2 separate regions of the Homo sapiens genome follow, and region 2 is linked to region 1. Evidence: promoter capture Hi-C in 16 types of primary human blood cells and fetal thymus (Javierre and others, 2016). All regions are on one chromosome and are shown on one strand. The core of a region is centred on a gene start or on the middle of the fragment in contact, and the rest is flanking DNA. Distances in the headings are between cores, read along the strand shown.

Region 1 (5,522 bases), core at 1,496-3,995:
CTCACATTGGGCCTGGGCCAGACTTCGCCGTCTTGGTGATTTTGGGGACAGGCGTGACAAGGGATGGGCAGGAAGACGTAGGTTTCTAAGACCCTCCACCCCCTAGACCTTGCTGCCGTGTCCCCTCCAGCCGCACGCTCATCTCCACTGCAGCTCAGAAGCATGCGTTCCAGGCATCCTCCCCGGGGACAGATCTTCCCCAGAAACACATTCTGGAGGACTCTTGTTTGGTGTTTATACTTTCCATTGTGATATTAACTCCACAGAACTGGGTTCAGAAAAGCTTTCAAGTAAAATACCTACTTACACTTCAAGACACCAGAAGTAAAAGGATGAAATGTTTTGGGAAATGGTAAACTGTGAAAGTACACCAAATTGTATCACTGTTTTCCTTCCTCCTGAGAGGCATCTGCTCCTGCTAGCTCTGTGCCACTTCCTTTCCAATTCTGCCTGCCCCATTAACATTGAGCTTCTGCCCCCAAACCCTCCCTGATATGTTTTCCCTCTGCCGTTACCAATGGCCTCCTACCTGCCAATCATGCTCCCTCCTCTTGGAGGAGCCACCGTGTCCTGGCTTGGGCCACACGTCCCCGAGTGTCTCCCCACGTCTCCCACCACCTTCACCAGCCCCTCTTCCTCCTCTTCCTGCTTCTAGAGGGGGAGGCTTCTCAACTTTTATTCTTGCCCTCTTAGTCTTCATATTTTCCTTGGTCAATCTCATTCACATCCCTGCAGGCAGCACAGATTGACTTCCTGGTGTCACTTTTGATTCTCAGGGACCCAGCCAGAAAGCCTCGTTGAGGCTGCCTTCAGCACACACCGGACAGGTTTGCCCTTCCCACGCCTCCTGCCCTGGCCTGCGCTCCTGCAGCCTTTTCCCTGATGACCTCAGGGTCTCTGCACGGGCTCCCCCTCCTCACCTGACTCCTCCAGCCCGATCTCAATGCAGTGGTCAGAGTCAGCCATTTACAGTGTGGGTGGTGCCATGCCACTGCCGTCAGAGTGAAAGCCAACGTCCTCACCATGGTCCTCACCACCTCAGGCTCTGAGTGGGCTCCTTCTGCTCTTGGTTGTCACTGTCTCCTGCCACTCCCTATCACTCTGCTGCAGCCAGCCTTGCCCCAACCCCCTGACCCCCTTCTTGCACTCCCCAGCCTGCAGCCTTTGCACCTCATTTTCTCTCCACCTACGTGTGTCCGACAGACAGCCACAGGCTAACTCACATCTTCTTTGAGACTCTGCCCTGGTGTCGCCTCCTCTCTGGCACATCCCCACCACCACCCCCCAGCCCACCCTGACCTTCTGTTCCCATCCACTCACCACCTTCCACACTCTAAATAATTTCCTTACATATCATGGGTATTATTTATTTTTCTGACTTATTTCCTGCCTTCACTAGAATTTACATTTCATGAAGGCAAGAGTTTGGGACTGTTTTTTTCTCCTGATTTATCTCAATTGCCTGAAACAATGACTGGCACATATTAGACACTTAATAAACCTTGGACCGACCCCCTACACATCTTGACATCTGACCTCAGTCTCTGGTGGGCGTTCTGGATGTCAGGGGTACTCCTGGAGCTCTCTACAGGGTGTCCCATAGGCGCTGCAAGCCCAGCATGCCCCAAACTAAGCCCCTCATCTTCCTCTCTCTCCTCAAGTGCACTTTCCCCCTCTGCAGGGAAACCCTAATGAAAGCAGAAGCCTGGAGGCACCCTGAAATTCCTCATCTCTGGGAGCAGCTAACAGTAGCATCGGGAGCTCAAGTGAGCCCATCAGGAAGAAGCTACGTCTGAGGCAAGTCCTGAAGGGCAACTGGCAGGGCAGCAGTGGGGACTGAATCAGCACGGTGCTCTCATGGCACTGAAGAGGTGCCTCCTGCAGCAGCCAGGGATTCCAGGAGGGGCAGGAGCAAGAGAGGCAGTGAGGCCATAGAGAGGCTGACTCAGGAGCAAGGGGCTTATGCTAAGAACATGCAATGGACGTGGCCAGGAGAGAGGTCTGCGTGTCATTCCCTGAATGTCATTCCCTGCTACTGGGATGATGGATCAGACAGAGTCAGGAGAGACTGGAGGAAGACCAGTGAGAGAGCGGTGACAATAATCCAGCCTGGGAGGGACGGAACCTGAACAAGGACAGGGTGGATGGCAGCCCATGAACGTGGAGACAGCAGACCTGATTCTGGAGGCATTTAAGATGTGGGGCAGAAGGACTCAGGCGTGCTCGGGTGTGGAGGGAGGGGAGGGGAAGGGTCCACACGGGAGCTCAGTGGGGCATCCGGGGGGCGTGGGCAGCCGCACCACTCCCTGAGAGGAAGAGCACAGGGGCAGGGGCTCCATGGCCAGGGGAGGTCTTGAGTCATTGGCTGGACACAGGAGTTAGTTCTGCAGAGGGATCGGGGCAGCCTGGGAGTCGTCAGCTGGAAGTGACTACAGGAACCGCAGGGGCGGGTACATTGTTCTGAGTGTGGACGGTGGGGACGGAAGGCTGGGGCCACAGCGCCAGACACTGAAGGAAAGGGGAGCAGAACAAGAGCCAAAATGTGGGCCCAGAAATGAGCAGAACGTCGCTGGCTTCTGGGGACAGCTAGTCCCCGAGGTGCACAGCGACAGAAGCCGCATGGCAGTGGGAGGAGGGAGTATAACTGCCTGTGAGTCTTTATGTATGGGAGGAAGAGACCTCATCAGAGGCATTCGTGGGAATGTGCACCCCAAGAAGACAGGGGACATGGGGACCCAGAGGTATCTGAGTAGGAGCAGAGACACATCATTGCCTGCCTCGCGCCCTGCCCTGCAGCTGCAATCAGGTAAGCAGTGGGCAGACGGGGCAGGTGCTCCCAGAGAGAGGGGCCATGCTGCGAGCAGGGTGCATCTTGCACTGTCCACAGGGTGCATTGTGAGTGCAGGACCTTGAACGGTGTTGCCTCAGATCTTCCAGCTTTTCAAAAGAAACCAGATATTGGTGCCTCTGTGTGAAATGTTCTGATTTTCAAAAACAAAGGTCAAAGTGAAAGTTTTAGAGAATTGTCCTTCTGAAACGTGCAGGATAAATGACATCCCAATATACCCAATATACAGGCGTGTGAGGAACTGGCTTGAGAGGTGCTCAGAAGCCACTGGAATTCTCGGTCTGCCCCACCATAAAATCTGTCTCCCTATTTATGTTTAAGAAGCGGTGGCTCATGCCTGTAATTCCAGCACTTTGGCAGGCTGAGGTGGGCGGATCACCGGAAGTCAAGAGTTCGAGACCAGCCTGGCCAACATGGCGAAATCCCGTCTCTACTAAAACAGACACAAAAATGAGCTGGGCACCTGTAATCCCAGCTACACGGGAGGCTGAGGTGGGAGAATCGCTTGAACCCAGCAGGCGGAGGTTGCGGTGAGCCGAGATCATGCCACTGCACTCCAGCCTGGGCAACAGAGTGAGACTCTGTCTCAAAAAAAAAGAAAAGTCACAAATAATCTTTAATTGGATTATTCTTTAAAAATCAGTGCTGAAAGGAAATCAACGAGCAGGCTATGCGTGTCGGGCCCACGGGCTTCCAGCTTGGGCTCTACCCTGTCGTGTCCACAGAACAGCAGCTTAGGAGAGGCTGGAGGACCGGCAGGCATCGCAGGCTCTGTCCATCTGAAATGCACTTTCTGATGTAACATATGAAGAACAGACCCGGTTGGTTTTTAGCATGGGTTTAATGAACTATCCTGACATCATGTTTAACACAATCCAGGCTTTCCTTGCTAATAGTATCACAGAAATCCTCAGCTCTGATGTAGGGCTTTCTATACTTTCTCTATGCTGTTCCATTGACTTTATGGTGGTGCTCGTTATCTTTAGTATTTATTTTATTAAATTATTATTTTATTTTTATTGTAGTTTTTCTATCCAAAATAGAAACGCCTCTTCATTAACCTGCTTCTCTTTTCTTCTTCCTGAATTATTTTAGCTATTCTCATCTGTTTATATTTCCAGATGATTTCAAGAATTATTTCATCCTGTTTCAAGAAAAATATAATTTGGTGAGATTTCAAATAGAATTGAGTTAAATTTCAAAATTGATTTGGAGATACTGACATTTTTACAATATACTTTTTTGAATCTAAGAATATTCTAATTAGTCATTGTTGGTATACAGGAAGACTACATTTTTGATATTCATTTTGAAATCCCTTAATTATAATAGTGTAGCAGATTTTTCAGCTTAAAAGTCCTGCCATCTGGAAATAATGATAATTTTGTCTACTTCTTTATTCTGTTCTGTGGTAGCTAGTACAATGGCACATTGTTACGTAGCAGTAGTTACAACAAAGAGCCCTGTCTTAATCCTGACCTTGGTGGAGCAGGAATGATCCTGGTATTTAGCTGTGGGGATGCTGTAGGCTGTTGGTTGAGGCTGGTATTATTTATCATGTTAGGAAAAATCACTTCTTTGGGGATGACAGATGCATGAAAGTTTTGGGAGAGTTTTTAATCAAAGCCTTTTAGCATTAGCTAGACTTCAAATGTGATCCTTTCAGCAGATTTGCTAACCTCGAAGTCTCTTTGCACCGCTGAAATAATCACGCTAGTGCCACGTGAGCTCTTTTAAAGTGCTGCTGGGTCCTAATTGCTGACATTTTATTTGAGTTTTTTAAGTATAGTAAAAAAGAAAAAAATAATCGATACATAGTTTTTCTTCCCTGAAATCTTCATCAGGCTTTCGTATCAGGAATTTGCTATTTTGTAAAATGAATTGGGACTTTCCCATGCTCTCTAAGGGTTTACCTAATGTAGGAAAGATCTGCTCCTGGCATAGCTAGAAGCTGGGCACAGGCAAAGTATCTGGGCCTGTCGGTTTTCTCTGAAGCAATTTTAACATCATGATGCTGTTGAGCTTTCTGTCTTCACTCAGTTTTCTCAAAAATAGACCTTTTTCTTGCCTTTAACAGTCACTCTTCTATGATTGCTTTTAATCATCTTCTAAGCCCCCAGTCTTCCTTGTCATCTGTAAACTGAAGCTGGAAGAGGACCACTGAATAAAACACATATTAGGTGCTTGGTAAATAGCGCCAACCCTTCCCCTGTCATTTGGTGGGTCTCCACCTGCAGTTTACTCTTTTTTTAGTCTCTGAAATTGCGTTGCATGCTCATATTTTCCTGTTTCATCTGTTTTACTGTCCTCAACTCTAAGCCTACTTCAGAACAAGTTTTTGCTGCTATCGATCAATTCTATTATTTTTTCTAATTCATAAAAAATGATTTTTATGCCATTGTTTTTAGGGAAATGTGTTATCTGTGATTCTGCTTTGGAGACAGATTGAACATTTTTTGATGCCATTGCCGATGATTTCTCCACATTTTCTAAACAAAAGTGTATATTTTCTCAGGGTTGTGAGTTTATTATCCCTCAAATCAACATTTCAAAAATTTTACTATTCTAATTCCAATACTTGGCATTCTAATTTGTTTTTACCTTTGAGATCTGTCAAGCAGTGAGAGGCATGTACTAGAGTCTGCTGCTGCTACTTTATTTGTCTCTTTTTTTT
Region 2 (4,826 bases), core at 24-2,523, 950 kb after region 1:
CCCTGCAGGAAGCTGCTGCCTCTGTCTGTGACCTTTCCTGATGTTTCGCTCCCACCTCCCACCTAGCAGGCTCTTCTCAAGGTCCAGGGCTGTTGCTTTCTGCCTCCGGGTCACTTCCCCAAGGAAACCAGTTCCCACCATGCTCCCCCAGGGCTGCCAGGAAGGAGCCACGGGGAGATCCGATTATATCTCAGATCAGGCCTGTTGGCTTTTTGTTAAAATAATTTTCTCTTTTTTTAAGATTTTGAAAAGCTTCTTCGAGAACACAGGGAGACCTCAGGCCCTTGGGGCCCTCCTCAGAGTTAAGGTGCTGGCGAGGCAGTGGGTCGTGAAGGGAATGGAGCTGCAGGCAGGGCCCTGGCCTGGTTTGAATTCAGCTCCCTTATGTGGCTGAGTCACACGAGGAGGCTTCGGGGATGCTGCAGCTCTGGCTGTGCCTCAGTTTCCCTGGCCGCCAGGCGATGGCAGCGGCCTCACTTGTTCTCATACAAGGAGGGCCCGGCCCCGCCTCCTGATAGGAACCAGAGCCCTGCCCCGAATCTGGCTGCAGTGGACTCCCAGGCCCAAGGAGGCAAGAAGGATCAGCCGATTAACACCTGAGGGCAGGACGGGGGCCGCACTTTGGTGAGGCTGTCCCAGCTGGTGCTCTTCACCCTGGAGGCAGCTGTCACAGGGGATCTTGAGCTCTTGACAGGGAGGAGGGTGTGGCCAGGCCCTGCTGATAGCGAGGGCAGGAAGAGAAGAGACTCCCGTCTGGGAGCTGGTGACCTTGGACAAATTTCCATTTCTTTGTCTGTAGAGAGGGGCTGGCAACACTGTGCAGGGTCGCACAAGGCCCCACCCATGCCAGGGCCCACCAGTAGAGACCTGCTATGTCCACTCCCCACACCAGGAATCCCACCATCCTACAGATAGCGCACAGGGTGGACAGGAACATCCACACCCACCCCTCCAACAGTCCTGGACACCCGACAGCCCAGGGCCCAAGTGGCTGTGGCAGAGATGAGTGAGCACGTGGAGCTGGCGTGGCACGGAGGGCCTCTGGTCTCCTGGCTTAGTTTCTGCAGGGTCCCGCCCTGCAGGTTCGCCTGCCCTCCTTTAGAAGCTGGGATATTTGTGAACTTTTAATCTGTGCCTCATCTTACCCCCCGTTTCCTTTACCAGTTTTATTGGTGATACATAATTTTCAGGGGGGAATTCTCTAAAAGTCAGGCCCAGGACCCTCTCCTGCAGTGCCCTCTGGGAGGAGGGAGGAGGAAGGCGGGGAGGAGCCACTGTAGAGGCTCTTGGCACCTGCTTCAGGGATCTGGTCAGGACGGCTGTGCCACTGGAGGGCAGCATTGCCCAGCAGACACTGGCTGCAGGAAACTCCTTCCCCACGTCCCTTCCCTCCACAGGACCAGACAGCTGTCCTGCTGCCCCTTCTGGGGACTGCCCAAGGCCTCCTGAGGCTTCCAGAGCTCCATAACCTGCTTCCTTGTCCCTCCCCTACATGTGCCCCCACCCCCAGGAGGTTCCGCTGAGGCCAGGGGATTGGGAGAGGGTCTCTCAGCCAGAAAAGCAAAGCAAATGCAAGCAAGGGAGGGAGGAGTGAGAAAGCAAAGACCCTGGAAGAAACAGCCCGCTCCTCCGCCCGCCCTCAGCTCCTCCGCCCGCCCTCGGCTCCTCTGCCTGTCCTCAGCACCATGGGTGAAGGTGCCAGCCACGACTGGGCCAGGGGCTGGCAGAGGGTCCCCAGGTGTTGGGGCTGTGGGACAAGACCTGAGCCTGGCAGGATCTCAGGGAGAGGAGAGCTGGAGAAAGACAGGTGGCTGGGAGACAGCCACAGAGGCGGTGGAGGCCATACTCCCTGGACAGCAGTGCCTTGCTCCCACACGTGGGGCAGCTCTCCAGTGCGGGTGCCCCTCCAGGTTCAGAGCGAGCAGTGTGCTAACTCAGCCCAGGGGGACGTGACGTCACCCACCAGACTTCCAGTGCCAGCCTGCCAGGGGTCACTGGCCTCCTGAGATGGCCGAGCAGAGGGGCCATGGGTACGGGGCATGGTTAGAGTGGGTACCCGATAGGAGAAGATGGGGTGGATGGGGCTGTGACTTCCCCAGTCCGCGGACCACTTGGAGGCCACAGCAAGACCGAAGCCCAGGCCCGAGGGCAGGGCCTCAGAGTCAGCACCCCTTCTCTGGGTAGACGACTGCCTGGAGGCCTGGGGGGTGAGGCCCTCCCCTCACACTGCTGAGTTGGCTTCGCGTGGTGAGGAAGGATGAGAGTGGGCTGGGAGATACTTTCTGCAAGCTTGGGACCCTGTCGATACTGGCAGGCCGGCCCAGCAAGACGTGGCTCCCAGTGCAGCTGTCTCGCTCCCTGCCTCACTCCAGAGCAGGCCTTGGGAAGCTGCCTCACACGTTCTGAGCAGTCGGGGGTCCTCTGAGTATAGCCATGTGTGTGTGCGGGCCCCGCCCTCCTGCAGAGGCTTCCCGGGAGCCAGAACAGCTCCTGGCCAATTTGCTTGCCCAGCTTGGTTTGTCCTGCCTCCAGGCACGGTGTCCAGGAAGGAGAGGAGAAGTGGGTGGGCTGGAAGTCAGATGCCACAGAGACCAGGGCCACCACTGGGATTTGCACCCTGCCCCAAGCCTGTGTTTGCTGTAAGGAGCAAAGACTCCTTCTGTCTTATCCTAGGAATTAAAGGGAGACAGAAATAACGAGGTCAGCCTCCCAAGAAAGCAGGAAGGGGCCACCATCACCACCGCTCCCAGAGTGGCTCTGGAAAAGCCTCTCAGGTGCTCAGTCTGAGCCGTCACAATATTGCACGCTACAGCCTGAGCCATCGCGGTGTCCCGCACGCACAGCCCGAGCCCTTGCGGTGTCGCGCACCTGCAGCCCCAGCCGTCGCGGTGTCGCAGAGCTTTTGGGGCTTTGATCCTGTGTCTTTTCTGTGTCCATTTCATGTGTTTGTAAGGAGAGGGTTTTTCTACTTTTCTTCTTTGCCTTATTCTAACATCAACTTTAATTTGTGAATTTCATTTGTGGTCTAACGTCAGATCTCTCTTTCTGCAATTCAGTCTCTTATCCAGTGGGTCGCTTTTGAGTGGGGAGGACACACATGGCTACCCTGCCGTTCTTTCACCCAAAGTCCACACTACATGACCTGCCTCTTGGCACCGCAGGGCACAGCCTGTGGTCCCCTACGGGGACCTTCCCAAGCGTGGGCTGCCTAGGCCCGTCTGTCCAGAGGGAACTTGGCCCTGGCCACAGCTGCCTGTGCCTGTACACACATGTGGGCTTCCTGAAGTCATTAGAAATGAGAAGCCCTGGCCAGGTGCGGTGGCTCACTCCTGTAATACCAGCACTTTGGGAGGCCGTGGCGGGTGGATCACATGAGGTCAGGAGTTCAAGACCAGCCTGGAACAACATGGCAAAACTCCATGTCTGATAAAAATACAAAAATTAGCCAGGTGTGATGGTGGGCACCTATAATCCCAGCTACTCAGGAGGCTGAGGCAGGAGAATCACTTGAACCCGGGAGATGGAGGTTACAGTGAGCCAAGATTGCGCCATTGCACTCCAGCCTGGGCAACGAGCGAAACTCCGTTTCAAAAAAAATAAAATAAAATAAATTAGAAGCCCCCGCAGCCGCCCAGGGCCCCAACTGCACCCTGACCCCTACCCAGAGAGTACGTCCCTCCTGCCTGGCTTTCCAGGGACATGTGACTTATGTCCCCAAAGTAGAAGCAGCACTAGGTTATGTGGATGGGACCATAGAGTCGTTTTTTACCACCGGAAGCCGTGTCACATCTTTTCTTTGTTAAACAAGAGACCTTCATAGAGGAAGCCCGGTTTTGTGGAATTGTTGTTCATGAGAAGAGAACCCGCAGAGCATCCGTCCCTGCCCAGCGCACCTGCCCTCTGGAGGTCTCTCCCCTGTGGGCGGGGACTGAGTTCTTGGCTCCGCCCCTTCTTCCTCCACCCTGCATGGACAGGACCCCCAGGTGCAATGCGTCCTGCAGGAAGGCTGTGTGCTACGGCTCCTGGTGGTCTGAGAGGAGCCCCAGGTGCTGGGCTGGCATAGAGAGCCCTCGAGCTTCGCCCACCACAGGTCTCACATACAGGGTGGACACCGAGGCCTGCAGGAGCTCAGCGGATGCTGGGGCAGGGCTGCAGTCGGGAGGGAGAGAGCAGATCCTGCTCAGGCCTGGGGGAAGCAGGTAACAGCCACAACCGGGGCCACCTGAGTGGCGTCTGACTCATCCTGTGGTGGCCTAACCCTCTGAGAGCCATTTCCATGTGAAATGTTAACTCGAATCTCATGTCCAAAGCCATCGTCCCCTTTAAAAGGCTAAATAAATGTAGCTCAACTAAAGAACACTAATTTTCCTGTGAATTTCTGGAGAAAATCTGAATTAGCCCAGGGATCTCAATCTGAAGAATTTCCAAACCTCAGAGAGACGCAGCCGGATGCCAGCTAGCCATCCAGGACAGATGCCAGACCCTGGCAGCTGTGGCCCCGGGCGGTCCAAGGAAGGCTGCTTCATCCTGGGGCTCAGAGACTCCGGGAGCGCGGCTGGGGTTTCCCTTGAACGTGAGGGAGCTCAGCAGCTCACCTCTATTTTAAGACCAGACCCTGGCAGCTGGAAAGCAAAGTAATAATTTGATGCCAAGTCATTCGTGCGACAGTGAAGGGTAATGCATTGAAGGCTGGAATTATCTTTTAAAGTGTTTTTTCAAAGCTATAATTAAGTGTAAGCCCTCTAAAATATTTCTTAAATATTTTAAAATATCACGTTGGGTGATGTTGCTTCTTCTTTTGCAGTAACCAAATAACATGCTTGTTT

Evidence for each region. The method cuts DNA at HindIII sites, captures the fragments that hold promoters and counts their contacts. A CHiCAGO score of 5 or more calls a contact.
Region 2: a contact is called between a fragment that was not itself captured here and the fragment with the promoter of OR6B3 in region 1, in 2 of 17 cell types (neutrophils and M0 macrophages). The highest score is 6.0, in neutrophils.

The regions. Positions count from the first base shown.
Region 1 is chr2:240,050,744-240,056,265 of GRCh38, reverse strand. OR6B3 (olfactory receptor family 6 subfamily B member 3) reads left to right here and starts at 2,745. Exons shown (of 3, transcript NM_173351.2): 1 at 2,745-2,806. RefSeq lists enhancers at 150-790, 791-1,433. The HindIII fragment of the contact is 11,088 bases long and covers 286-5,522 here.
Region 2 is chr2:239,103,011-239,107,836 of GRCh38, reverse strand. The region is part of intron 15 of HDAC4 (histone deacetylase 4); the gene reads left to right. Among named protein-coding and RNA genes, the nearest start is that of MIR4441, 19 kb to the right of the region's middle. The HindIII fragment of the contact is 2,037 bases long and covers 255-2,291 here.